3 separate regions of the Homo sapiens genome follow, and regions 1 and 3 are each linked to region 2. Evidence: promoter capture Hi-C in 16 types of primary human blood cells and fetal thymus (Javierre and others, 2016). All regions are on one chromosome and are shown on one strand. The core of a region is centred on a gene start or on the middle of the fragment in contact, and the rest is flanking DNA. Distances in the headings are between cores, read along the strand shown.

Region 1 (3,544 bases), core at 779-3,278, 330 kb before region 2:
GAGATCGCGCCACTGCACTCCAGCCTGGGCGACAGAGTCAGACCCTGTCTAAAATAATAATAATAATAATTATAGGTCAGGGGCAGTGGCTCACACCTATAATCCTAGCATCTTGGAAGGCTGAGGTGGGAGGATAGCTTGAGCTCAGGAGTTCAAGACCAGCCTGGACAACATGGTGAGACCCTGTCTCTATAAAAGATTTTTTTTTTTTTTTGAGACAGAGTCTTGCTCTATTGCCAGGCTGGAGTGCAGTGGCACAGTCTTGGCTCACTGCAACCGCCTCCCGGGTTCAAGTGATTCTCCTGCCTCAGCCTCCAGAGTAGCTGGGACTATAGGCGCCTGCCACCACACCCAGCTAATTTTTGTATTTTTATTAGACACAGGGTTTCACCATGTTGGCCAGGATGGTTTTTTTTTTTTTCTCTTCTTGACCTCGTGATCCACCCGCCTTGGCCTCCCAAAGTGCTGGGATTACAGACATGAGCCACCGTGCCCGGCCTTTTTTTTTTTTATTTTTAATTAGCCATGCGTAGTGTTGTGTGCTCGTAGTCCCAGCCTCTTGGGTGGCTGAGGTGGGAGGATTGCTTGAGCCTAGGAGGTCAAGGCTGCAGTGAGCTATGATCAAGCCACTGTCCTCCAGGTTGGGTGATAAAGTGAGACCTTGTCTCGAGAAAAAAAAAAAAAAAGCATTGGGCCAGGCGCAGTGGCTCACACCTATAATTTGACCACTTTGGGAAGCCAAGACGGATGGATCACCTGAGGTCAGGAGTTCAAGACCTGCCTGGCCAACATGGTGAAACCCTGTCTATACTAAAAAATACAATAATTAACTGGGCATGGTGGTGTGTGCCTGTAGTCCCAGCTACTCGGGTGGCTAAGGCACGAAAATCGCTTGAACCCGGGAGGTGAAGGTTGCAGTGAGCCGAGATTGTGCCACTGCACTACAGCTTGGGTGACAGAGTGAGACCCTGTCTCGAAAGAAAAAAAAAAAAGCATAAAAATCCATCAAAAAATTATAATACATTCCTTGAACTATTTCTCAAGGTTGTTAAAGGTATTAAACAAGACGTACTAGATGCTCTGTACACAGGGATACTAATAATGAGAGACCTTATCTTACCCCCCATCAAAATAGACTAAGTCCGTACAAGATACTGGCACAAGAAAGGATCTTACAGGTTGTGACAATTAAGTAGAATGATGGACCTTGGCCCGATCCTACAGGTTGTGAGAGTTAAGTCAAATGGATATTGGGATGCTCAATAAATTAGCATCCTTATCTCCCAACTATGGACTTTCCCGCATCTTGGAGCAAGAGCAAGTAATTCTCTTTTCTGAGCCTCTTAGCGTCCCCTCTGAGAAATAGGGAAATGCACAGCCTGGTTGTGGGGGCTCAGCGACGCTCCGCACAGCGCCTGGCACTTGGTACAGGCGCCAGTAGAGGGCGGTGTTGAGGCGTCTATTGCGATTAAGACGGTAGGCGATGAGGGAAGCTAAGTGGGTCTCTCTCCTGCCTTCCCGCAGCTGAGTGCACGGTTATGGGAATCCCCAGTATCTCCACCAATCTCTCCGGCTTCGGCTGCTTCATGGAGGAACACATCGCAGACCCCTCAGCTTACGGTCAGCGCCCAGGCCCCTGAGGATTCTGGAAGGGGGCTTGAGAACAGTGACTCCTGGATCCTGGGAAGGAGGAGCTTGCACCCTTGGAGACCAGGGGCACCAGGAAATGGGGGGGCTCTCGGGCCGCTGGGAGAGGAGGGGTCCTGGTGCCACAGAGTCCTGGAGACCATGAAGATCTCCCCAGGATGTTTTCTGAACCTGGGTCCTGGCCTCCACAGGTATCTACATTCTTGACCGGCGGTTCCGCAGCCTGGATGATTCCTGCTCGCAGCTCACCTCCTTCCTCTACAGTTTCTGTCAGCAGAGCCGGCGGCAGCGTATCATCCAGCGGAACCGCACGGAGCGCCTCTCCGACCTTCTGGACTGGAAATACCTAGGCCGGGTAGGACCCCCACTTTCCTATCCTCTCCTGGCAAATCAGCAGCTCCTGGCTAGGGGTCTTTGGTGCAGGGTGCAGGGTCTCATCCTACTTGTAACAGTTGCTGTCCCTTTAAGCAATGAACCAGGCCGATCGCGATGGTGGCTCATGGTTGTAATCCCAGCACTTTGGGAGGCCTAACAGGAAGGATCGCATGAGCTCAGGAGTTAAGAGACCAGCCTGGGCAACATTTTATTTTTACTAAAAATAAAAAAAAATCAGCCGAGCGTGATGGTGCGTGCCTGTAGTCCCAGCTACTGGGGAGGCTGAGGTGGTAGGGTCGCTTGAGCCCCGGAGGTTGAGGCTGCAGTGAGCCTTGTTCAAACCCACTGCACTCCATCCTAGAGTAACAGAACAAGACCGTGTTTAAAAAGAAAAAAAGAACATTGGTCAGGCGTTCTCATTTGCATAAGGGTGTGGCCAAAGAGGAGACTCACTTGAGAATTCGGCCCCTGTTTGAGGGGTATGGCTCAGAAACTGTCCATTCACAGGTCTGCTTATCTACATAAGGGGTGGAGTCAGATAGATGGATTATTTGTATGGGGTGCAGCAGTGTGCTCATCTGCATAAAGGGTGTGGCCAAGACCCCCATCATCTGCCTGGGGGTGGGGCCTGGCTCTCACATCCTCTGCCCCCTCTCCTCCTTTCCCCTAGTACTATATGTCTGCGCGCCACATGGCGCTGTCCAAGGCCTTTCCAGAGCACTTCACCTACGAGCCCAACGAGGCGGATGCGGTGAGTGGACCCTGGATTTCTGCTTAGCCAGGAGCTAAAGGGCTGGGCTTCGGTGGGGTGGGGGTCCCTCCTGGAGTGGGAAGGCCTAGAGGTGGCTGGATGCCTGGGTGGGACTGTGAGGTCCTCAGCTCACCCTGGTTTGCACCCACATCGCCGTATGCAGGCCCAGGGGTACCGCTACCCACGGCCAGCCTCGGTGCCACCGTCGCCCTCGCTGTCACGACACTCCAGCCCGCACCAGAGTGAGGACGAGGAGGATCCCCGGAACGGGCCGCTGGAGGAAGACGGCGAGCGCTACGATGAGGACGAGGAGGCCGCCAAGGACCGGCGCAACATCCGTGCACCAGAGTGGCCGCGCCGAGCGTCCTGCACCTCCTCCACCAGCGGCAGCAAGCGCAACTCTGTGGACACGGCCACCTCCAGCTCACTCAGCACCCCGAGCGAGCCCCTCAGCCCCACCAGCTCCCTGGGCGAGGAGCGTAACTAAGTCCGCCCCACCACACTCCCCGCCTGTCCTGCCTCTCTGCTCCAGAGAGAGGATGCAGAGGGGTGCTGCTCCTAAACCCCCGCTCCAGATCTGCACTGGGTGTGGCCCCGCAGTGCCCCCACCCAGTCCGCCAAACACTCCACCCCCTCCAGCTCCAGTTTCCAAGTTCCTGCACTCCAGAATCCACAAAGCCGTGCCTTTCTCTGGCTCCAGAATATGCATAATCAGCGCCCTGGAGTCCCCTGGGCCTGGACCGCTTCCCAGAGGCCAGGAATCTGCCATTA
Region 2 (3,911 bases), core at 1,248-3,747:
CATTCACTTCAACCAGGAACTCTACGGGAATTTCAGCGCTGCCTCCCGCGGCCCCAATGGCCTGGCCATTCTCAGCCTCTTTGTCAACGTGAGCGGAGGCGAGATTCAGAGGGAGGGAGCAGTTGGGTGCCTGGAACCCGGGGTCTGAGGGAAGCGGGGTGCTGGGAGGCCCAGACTCCTGGGTCCTGGGGGAGGAGAAGGTTGAGGGCTTGGACTTCTGGGCTCCTGTGTCCTCACCTCGTACCCCCACACAGGTTGCCAGTACCTCTAACCCATTCCTCAGTCGCCTCCTTAACCGCGACACCATCACTCGCATCTCCTACAAGAGTAAGTCCCTGGCGTGCTGGGGGCAGTGGTCACACACGAGGGGGTTCAAGAGTGCCATCCCTCTTTACTCTGGCCTGATATTCCCGCAGATGATGCCTACTTTCTTCAAGACCTGAGCCTGGAGCTCCTGTTCCCTGAATCCTTCGGCTTCATCACCTATCAGGGCTCTCTCAGCACCCCGCCCTGCTCCGAGACTGTCACCTGGATCCTCATTGACCGGGCCCTCAATATCACCTCCCTTCAGGTGACCCTCTGTCCGCACCGCCCTTCCTAGGCCTGGGTACTCCACTCACTGGCCTGGGCATCCCCTTGCTCACCTGCCCTCCCTCTCCTCATAGACTGAACTCAAGTAGGTAAGAGGGTCAGACCACCTTGGGGGTGGGTGGGGCTGAGAACAGACCCCGCCCACCTGCTCCCAGGGGCGGGGTTTCCTGCGTGACGTCACCAAGACCATTCACTATTCACTCCCAGTTTCCCACCCTCCTTCCACTGCAGATGCACTCCCTGAGACTCCTGAGCCAGAATCCTCCATCTCAGATCTTCCAGAGCCTCAGCGGTAACAGCCGGCCCCTGCAGCCCTTGGCCCACAGGGCACTGAGGGGCAACAGGGACCCCCGGCACCCCGAGAGGCGCTGCCGAGGCCCCAACTACCGCCTGCATGGTATGGTCCAGTCTGCACCCCCTCTAAGTCTTGGGCTAACCCTCTTATATGTGTCTCCCCTTGGTGTCTCAGTGTGATTCAGTCCCATCCTCCTTCCTGCGTCTATATGGTCTAGCCTCGTGAGCTGTCTCTTTTTCTCTCTTTCCCTACATGTCTATGTGGTACAGTCCACCTGCCAGCCCTAGGCCATTGCTAGCCCACGATTTGTCTTTCCTCTTCACTGCTTTGTAACTTGGTCTATAACCCTTGACCCCTGCCTTCCTATGGTCCAATTACCTACTGTTCTGTGCTTCCTATTACTGTGAATTTCCAAAATGGTACAATTTGGATCCTCTCTCCCTTTCCAAGTCGTACTACCTTACGCTGTTCCACAATCTGATGCTCCCTTCCCCCTTACTGAGAATCTACAAGGTACAACCCCTTCCCTCCACCTCTGCCTCCCTGTGGTTTAGCCCAGGAATCTCACACACCCCCGGCTTCGCAACATGGTACAGTCCACACCCCCCCCCCCCCATGAAGACCTTCAAGTAGTTCAGCCTACTGCTGAATCTGGACGTCCCGATTCCCCCCTCCTATTGGCTTCTTGTGGTTCAGCCCAGTGCTTCTCGACCTAGTACATTCTGGTTCCCCGCTCGCAGACTTCCGACGGTAGGGCCCAGCGCGGCGCAGCCCACGCCCCCTGCACACCCCCCGCCCCTTCCATCCTATACTGACGCCCCCTGCCGTTGTTCTCTGTCTTACAGTGGATGGTGTCCCCCATGGTCGCTGAGACTCCCCTTCGAGGATTGCACCCGCCCGTCCTAAGCCTCCCCACAAGGCGAGGGGAGTTACCCCTAAAACAAAGCTATTAAAGGGACAGAATACTTCCTGTTTTCTCAGTGGTCTGATTCTAGGCGCGGTGGGGAAACATTTGGGTATTAAAGAACAGACTTCTTCCGGAAACCAATCTTCCTCTTTCTAAACCTCCGCTCTCGGTATTTTGGCTTCCTGCTTCTCAAAACCATCTTTAGGACCGCGGCCCCTTTAAGCGGCGCCCCTTTTCCCCCCATCACCCCCCTCGCCATCAGGCAGCACGAGCAGAGCCATGTGCTTCCCCCTCCCGCCTGCCTCATTGGCCCAAACTGGGTCACGGTCCCGCCCCCCAGTACCGCCTCCCATTGGGCAAATGTAGGTCAGTGTCCCGCCTCCCACCGAAAGGCAAGGCAACTTCACGCGCTGAGCCCCTCACGCGCCCTCCTGGGCCCTGGCGGACCCAGAGGCCCCATTGGCTGTGCGTCTCAAGGTGTCGGAGACGATTGGTCCGTGTTTGCAGCCGGAGGGAGGCACGCGGCTGGGTTGCATGCCCATAGAGGCTGGCGGGGCTGGACGCGCCGGGCGGGGACCCGGAGGAGGGGCGCGCGCTGTGGCGTCGGGTGTTTTGGTTTGGATTTTTTTTTCCGCGAAAGAAGTTTGCTTTGGCCACGCCTCAAGGCGGCCGCCTCCTCCTGCCCCCTCCTCCGCCCCTCCGCGCACACCTCTCGGTGCAGATTGCAAAGCGCCTTCCGTTGCGAGAGCTGCAGATTTTGCAAGAGCCAGGCTCGCCCACCTTGTAGAAGGAGCGCCTTGAGTCCCCTCTCACCCTCGGTTGCAAAGAGCCGACCGCTTGATCTGGACACCCCCTCGCCCAGATTGCATGATCTCCCGGGACCCTCTTGAGTTGCACGTTTCTGCACCGAGGACCTCAAATCCCCGTCGCTCCTAGGATTTGCAGCGTTCTGGATACTGGAGGGTTGCAGGCTACACTCGCCCGCCCCTGGGCAGACACTCGTCCAAACCACTGGAGTGTGCTGGTGACTGGCAGGCCAGCCCTTCGCCTCTCCATGAACCCGTGAGCCTGGGGGCAGGTGCCAGGCGATGGCGCGGCCTGTGAGCGACAGGACCCCGGCCCCTCTGCTGCTGGGCGGCCCGGCCGGGACACCCCCTGGCGGGGGAGCGCTGCTTGGGTTGCGGAGCCTTCTGCAGGGGACCAGCAAGCCCAAAGAGCCGGCCAGCTGTGAGTTCTAACCCCCATCTCACCCACTTCGGACACCCTACCCCCTTAGGGACTCAGGTGCCGTGGGGTGGGGTCCCATAGAAACCTGCGTGCGGGGAGTCCATCTTCCCAACCTTAATCTACTCAATTACTCAGGTGTTTAGGCCCCTAGATCCCTTAGCGCCCAGGACCCAAAAGCGCCGGCTCTGAAGCCCGTCCACCCTAAGGACCCAGGCACCAACGTCCCCAACGTCCTCCCCGCTTAGTTCACAAGAGTGTAGGCCCCAGCCTCCTCTTCCTTTTGGTCCGGGAGTCTGGACCCCTGGGGTCCCAGGGAGGGGGTGTGTCGGGTGCTCACACGGTGGTGACACGGGCTTGGGCGGGGCGTCATGGGGTCACATGGAGTCTAGGGATGAGGGATGTGCCCCAGGAATAGAGCCCCTTCCTGCCCCTTACAGATGGTGGGGGAGGGGAAGGGGGTACAGCGCGCAGGGGATGGGGGTTGGGTAATTACAGTGAAATTACAGAGCTGTCATTTTTTCTCTCACCTGCCCAACCCTCCACCTACCCTGTCCCTGCCCCCCTATTCCTGAACTTCCGTCTCTCTTTCTCTGGTTCGCTGTCTTTCTGTGTGTCTATTCCTTCCCGGCATTCTGTCCCCATCTCTGTGAATCTGTCCACCTGTCTCTGCCACCCCCGTCTCCATTCTTTCTGGGTCTCTCTCCCACTCTGCGTCTCCGTCCCTTTTTCTCCCGTCTCTCCTCTCCGACCCCCCGTCCCCTCTTTCTCTGGATCTCCGCCCTGTGCCTCTCGGACTCGGGGTCTCTTCTCCATCTCTATCTCCCCCACCTCACCCTCATCCCAACCCGTCTTTCCCGGCCCGCAGGTCTCCTGAAGGAAAAGGAGCGCAAG
Region 3 (3,844 bases), core at 1,080-3,579, 350 kb before region 2:
ACCCAGAACAGCCCAGTCGCTTCCTGAGGGCAGCTGCTTCCCACGTGCTGGGGGCCTAAGAATAGCCCCCCCCCCCCCCCAGCAAAAGGGCAGACAACAGCTGGGAGGGGGAGGGACCTCAGAGCGAGGCTCCAGGCAGCAAAAAGCCAGGTCGGCGAGGAGCGGGGCTGCTTCTCCACTGCTGTGGCAGCAGGCCCAGAACCAAAGCCATGGTCTCAGGGAGGAAAACAGCCAACTGGAGAAATGTGGCAGAGGCAGAAGTGAGACAGCAAGTCTTAGAAACACGGCAGTGGCTAGAAAAATGCAGCCCTGGGGCACGGACAGAGGATGGGCTATGTTAGAAATGTGTGGCGTGGCCGAGGGCGGTGGCTCATGCCTGGAATCCCAGCACTTTGGGAGGCCGAGGTGAGAGGATAGCTTGAGCCCAGGAGTTCCTGACCCACCTGGGCAACATGGCGAAACTCTGTCTCTACTAAAAATACAAAAAATTAGCCAGGCATGATGGTGCGTGCTCGTGATCCCAGTTACTCAGGAGGCTGAGGTGGGAGGATGGGATGTGGAGGCTGTAGTGAGCCATAATTTTTTTTTTTTTTTTTTCAGATAGAATCTCACTCTGTCGCTGAGTCTGGAGTGCAGTGGTACAATCTCGACTCACTGCAACCTCCGCCTCCCGCGTTCAAGCAATTCTCCTGCCTCGGCCTCCCAAGTAGCTGGGACCTCAGGCACATGCTGCCACGCCCGGCTAATTTTTTGTATTTTAGTAGAGACAGGGTTTCACCATGTTGCCCAGGCTGGTCTCAAACTCCTGAGCTCAGGCAATCCGCCCGCCTCGGCCCCCCAAAGAGCTAGGATTACAGGCGTGAGCCACCGCGCCCAGCCCAGTGAGCCATGATTGCACCACTGCACTCCAGCCTGGGTGACCGGAGTGAGACCCTGTCAAAAACAAAAACAAACAAAAAAAAATGGAAGAAAGAAAGAAAAAGGAGAGAGGGAGGGAAGGAGGGAGAGAGGGAAGGAAGGAAGGAAGGAAGCAAGGAAGGAAGGAAGGAGGCTGTGGACTACAAAATGGGCCTATGGATAGAGGAAAGAGGTCGCAGGTGACAGATATGTGATGAAAGGAACAGAAACAAGGCATCATGGGGAAGAAAAGTGGCAGCATGAACAGTAAGAGAATCATTACAGGCTGGGTGCAGTAGCTCACGCCTGTAATCCCAGCACTTTGGTAGGCTGAGGCCAGGAGTTTGAGACCAGCCTGGGCAACATGGTGAAACCCTGTCCTTACAAAAAAGTTAAAAATTAGCCGGGATGTGATACCTTGTGCCTGTGGTCCCAGCTACGTGGGAAGCTGCGGTGGAAGGATTGCTTGAGCCTGGGAGATCGAAGCTTCAGTGAACCGTAATTGCACCACTCCCTTCCAGGCTGGAGGACAGAGCAAGACCCCGTCTCTGAAAATAAAAAAGGGCCTGCTTTAGGTGGCTCACACTTCTAATCTCAACACTTTGGGAGGCTAAGCAAGAAAACTGCTTGAACGCAGGAGTTCACGATCAGCCTGGGCAACATAGTGAGACCCCATCTCCACAAAAAATTAAAAAATCAGCCTGGCATGGTGGCCCACGCCTGTAGGAGGTGAGGTGGGAGGATTGACTGAGCCAGGGAGGTTGAGGCTATAGTGAACCATGTTCACACCACTGCACTCCAGCCTGGGCAACAGAGCGAGACCCTGTCTGAAAACAAAAAAGAAGCATCCCGTGGAAGGAATTAGCATCAGAAAGAAAAGACAGTGGGAGATGCAGATGGTTGGTAAGAGAAATGTGGCAGCAAGTACAGAAACAAGGCAGCAGGTAGGGGAAATGATTTGCAGAGTGGCCAGACAGGGCAGTGGGGGCATAGACACAGGACATGTGACATATGTGGTTATAAGCAGAGAAAGGAGGCAGCGAGTGGGAGAAGGGTAGCAGTTACAGGAATTAAACAGGAGGCTGGGTGCGGTGGCTCACGCCTGTAATCCCAGCACTTTGGGACGCCGAGGCGGGCGGATCACAAGGTCGGGAAATGGAGATCATCCTGGCTAACACAGTGAAACCTCGTCTCTACTGAAAATACAAAAAAAAGTAGCCGGGCGTGGTGGCGGGCCGCTGTAGTCCCAGCTACTCGGGAGGCTGAGGCAGGAGAATGGTGTGAACCCAGGAGGCAGAGGTTGCAGTGAGCCGAGATCATGCCACGGCACTCCAGCCTGGGCAACAGAGCCAGACTCCGTCTCAAGAAAAAAAAAAAATTAGCCAGGTGTGGGAGCGGGTGCCTGTAATCCCAGCTACTTGGGAGGCTGAGGCAGGAGAATTGCTTGAACCCGGGAGACAGAGGTTGCAGTGAGCTGAGATCGCACCACTGCACTCCAGCCTGGGCCACAGAGTGAGACTCCATCTCAAAAAAAAGAAAGAAAGAAAGTAAGCAGGGGGCACGGAAAATATTGCAACAGAGATGGAAAAAATGTGTAGCAGGAATAAATCATGCAAATAGAGAAGTAAGGCTAAGGCAGCAGGTGAGAAATTAGCAGCAGATATGGAAACAGAAGATAAGAGAGCTGAGGCTTAAGTCTATAGACATCTGCCTGCAAATGGGAGAACCACGGATGAGTGAAGATATGAGGCTGAAGCCCAGAGCCTCCCTATGGTGCCTCCCCAACCCCATCCCAGGTGTATTTCGGGCGCTGGCTGATCGAGGGAGGCCCTCTGGTGGTGCTCCTGGACGTGGGTGCCTCAGCTTGGGCCCTGGAGCGCTGGAAGGGAGAGCTCTGGGATACCTGCAACATCGGAGTGCCGTGGTACGACCGCGAGGCCAACGACGCTGTCCTCTTTGGCTTTCTGACCACCTGGTTCCTGGGTGAGGTAGGCCCCGTCTGACACATTCCACCCATACCTGAAACTACAATGACCATCAGCCCCTGGGCCAGAGGATGGGCTTCTCCCTGGGCATTCTGGGAGTCATAGGGTCCTTTAATCCAAGGATTAGCTCTGGCCTTTGAGGACATGAACATCCAAGGGCCCAGGCTCTACTCTCGATGCCAACTTCATTTACTCTAGTCTTCCAAGCATAGGGATTCTTGGAATCAGCCTCAAAGTGAGGCTGGCGGGCTTGCCCGAGGAATTCTAGGAGTTGTAGTTCTCTAGTGTGATATTGCTGGACTCAGCTCTCAGATGCTGCCCTGGATGCTCATGAATCCCCAGCCTGACCTGGTTTTGACCCCCTTCTAGGTTTTAAGAGGCTCAAGAAGCTTAGTTTCCAGGCTGGGCACGGTGGCTCATGCCTGTAATCCCAGCACTTTGGGAGGCCGATGGGGGAAGATCACGTGAGGCCAGGAGTTCAAGATGGCCAAACCTCGTCTTTACTAAACATACAAAAAAATTAGCTGGGTGTGGTGGTGGGCACCTGTAATCCCAAATCCCAGCTACTTGGGAGGCTGAGACAGGAGAATTGCTTGAACCTGGGAGGCGGGAATTGCAGTGAGCTGAGATTGCATCACGGCACTCCAGCCTGGGCCACAGAGTGAGACACTGTCTCAAAAAAAAAAAGAAAAAGAAAAAAAAAAAAAGAAGCTTAATTTCTCATGCCCTGGGACAAATAATTGAGGAACTGGCTGCTCCTATGGCATTCTGGGAGTTGTAGTCCCTTTGCCAATGTTGGGTGCAGACAGCGTACCCTTGAGACAAGGGGTCTTTGGAAACTATGTCCAGGACCTGGGAACATGAAAACTTCAGTCTGTCCAATCTAACCCTGCCAGGACTTAGATGGTTGGCCAAAAAATCCTCAGTTCCTGTCAACCCCTGAGGAGGCAGTCACTTGAGCC

Evidence for each region. Contacts are between HindIII fragments. The CHiCAGO score rates a contact against its expected background, and 5 or more counts as called.
Region 1: a fragment that was not itself captured here is called in contact with the fragment with the promoter of DBP in region 2 in 5 of 17 cell types (M0 macrophages, endothelial precursors, naive CD4 T cells and 2 more); the score reaches 7.4 in M0 macrophages.
Region 3: a fragment that was not itself captured here is called in contact with the fragment with the promoter of DBP in region 2 in 1 of 17 cell types (endothelial precursors); the score reaches 5.4 in endothelial precursors.

What each region holds. Positions count from the first base shown.
Region 1 is chr19:48,969,004-48,972,547 of GRCh38, reverse strand. GYS1 (glycogen synthase 1) reads left to right here. Exons shown (of 16, transcript NM_002103.5): 13 at 1,525-1,620; 14 at 1,839-2,002; 15 at 2,693-2,773; 16 at 2,937-3,544. The coding sequence ends at 3,260. Among named protein-coding and RNA genes, the nearest start is that of FTL, 5.5 kb to the right of the region's middle. RefSeq lists a cis regulatory region at 1,200-1,720 and an enhancer at 1,697-2,224. The HindIII fragment of the contact is 5,397 bases long and covers 1-3,544 here.
Region 2 is chr19:48,635,965-48,639,875 of GRCh38, reverse strand. It overlaps DBP (D-box binding PAR bZIP transcription factor), which reads left to right and starts at 2,497. Exons shown (of 4, transcript NM_001352.5): 1 at 2,497-3,020; 2 at 3,886-3,911. The coding sequence starts at 2,882. It overlaps CA11 (carbonic anhydrase 11), which reads left to right. Exons shown (of 9, transcript NM_001217.5): 5 at 1-88; 6 at 255-327; 7 at 417-571; 8 at 823-988; 9 at 1,732-1,930. The coding sequence ends at 1,757. It also overlaps the pseudogene SEC1P. RefSeq lists an enhancer at 1,280-1,449 and silencers at 2,060-2,279, 2,450-2,559, 2,790-2,909. The HindIII fragment of the contact is 6,625 bases long and covers 1-3,911 here.
Region 3 is chr19:48,986,235-48,990,078 of GRCh38, reverse strand. It overlaps GYS1 (glycogen synthase 1), which reads left to right. Exons shown (of 16, transcript NM_002103.5): 3 at 2,694-2,885. Among named protein-coding and RNA genes, the nearest start is that of GYS1, 5.2 kb to the left of the region's middle. RefSeq lists an enhancer at 1-314 and a silencer at 1,445-1,627. The HindIII fragment of the contact is 1,888 bases long and covers 1,386-3,273 here.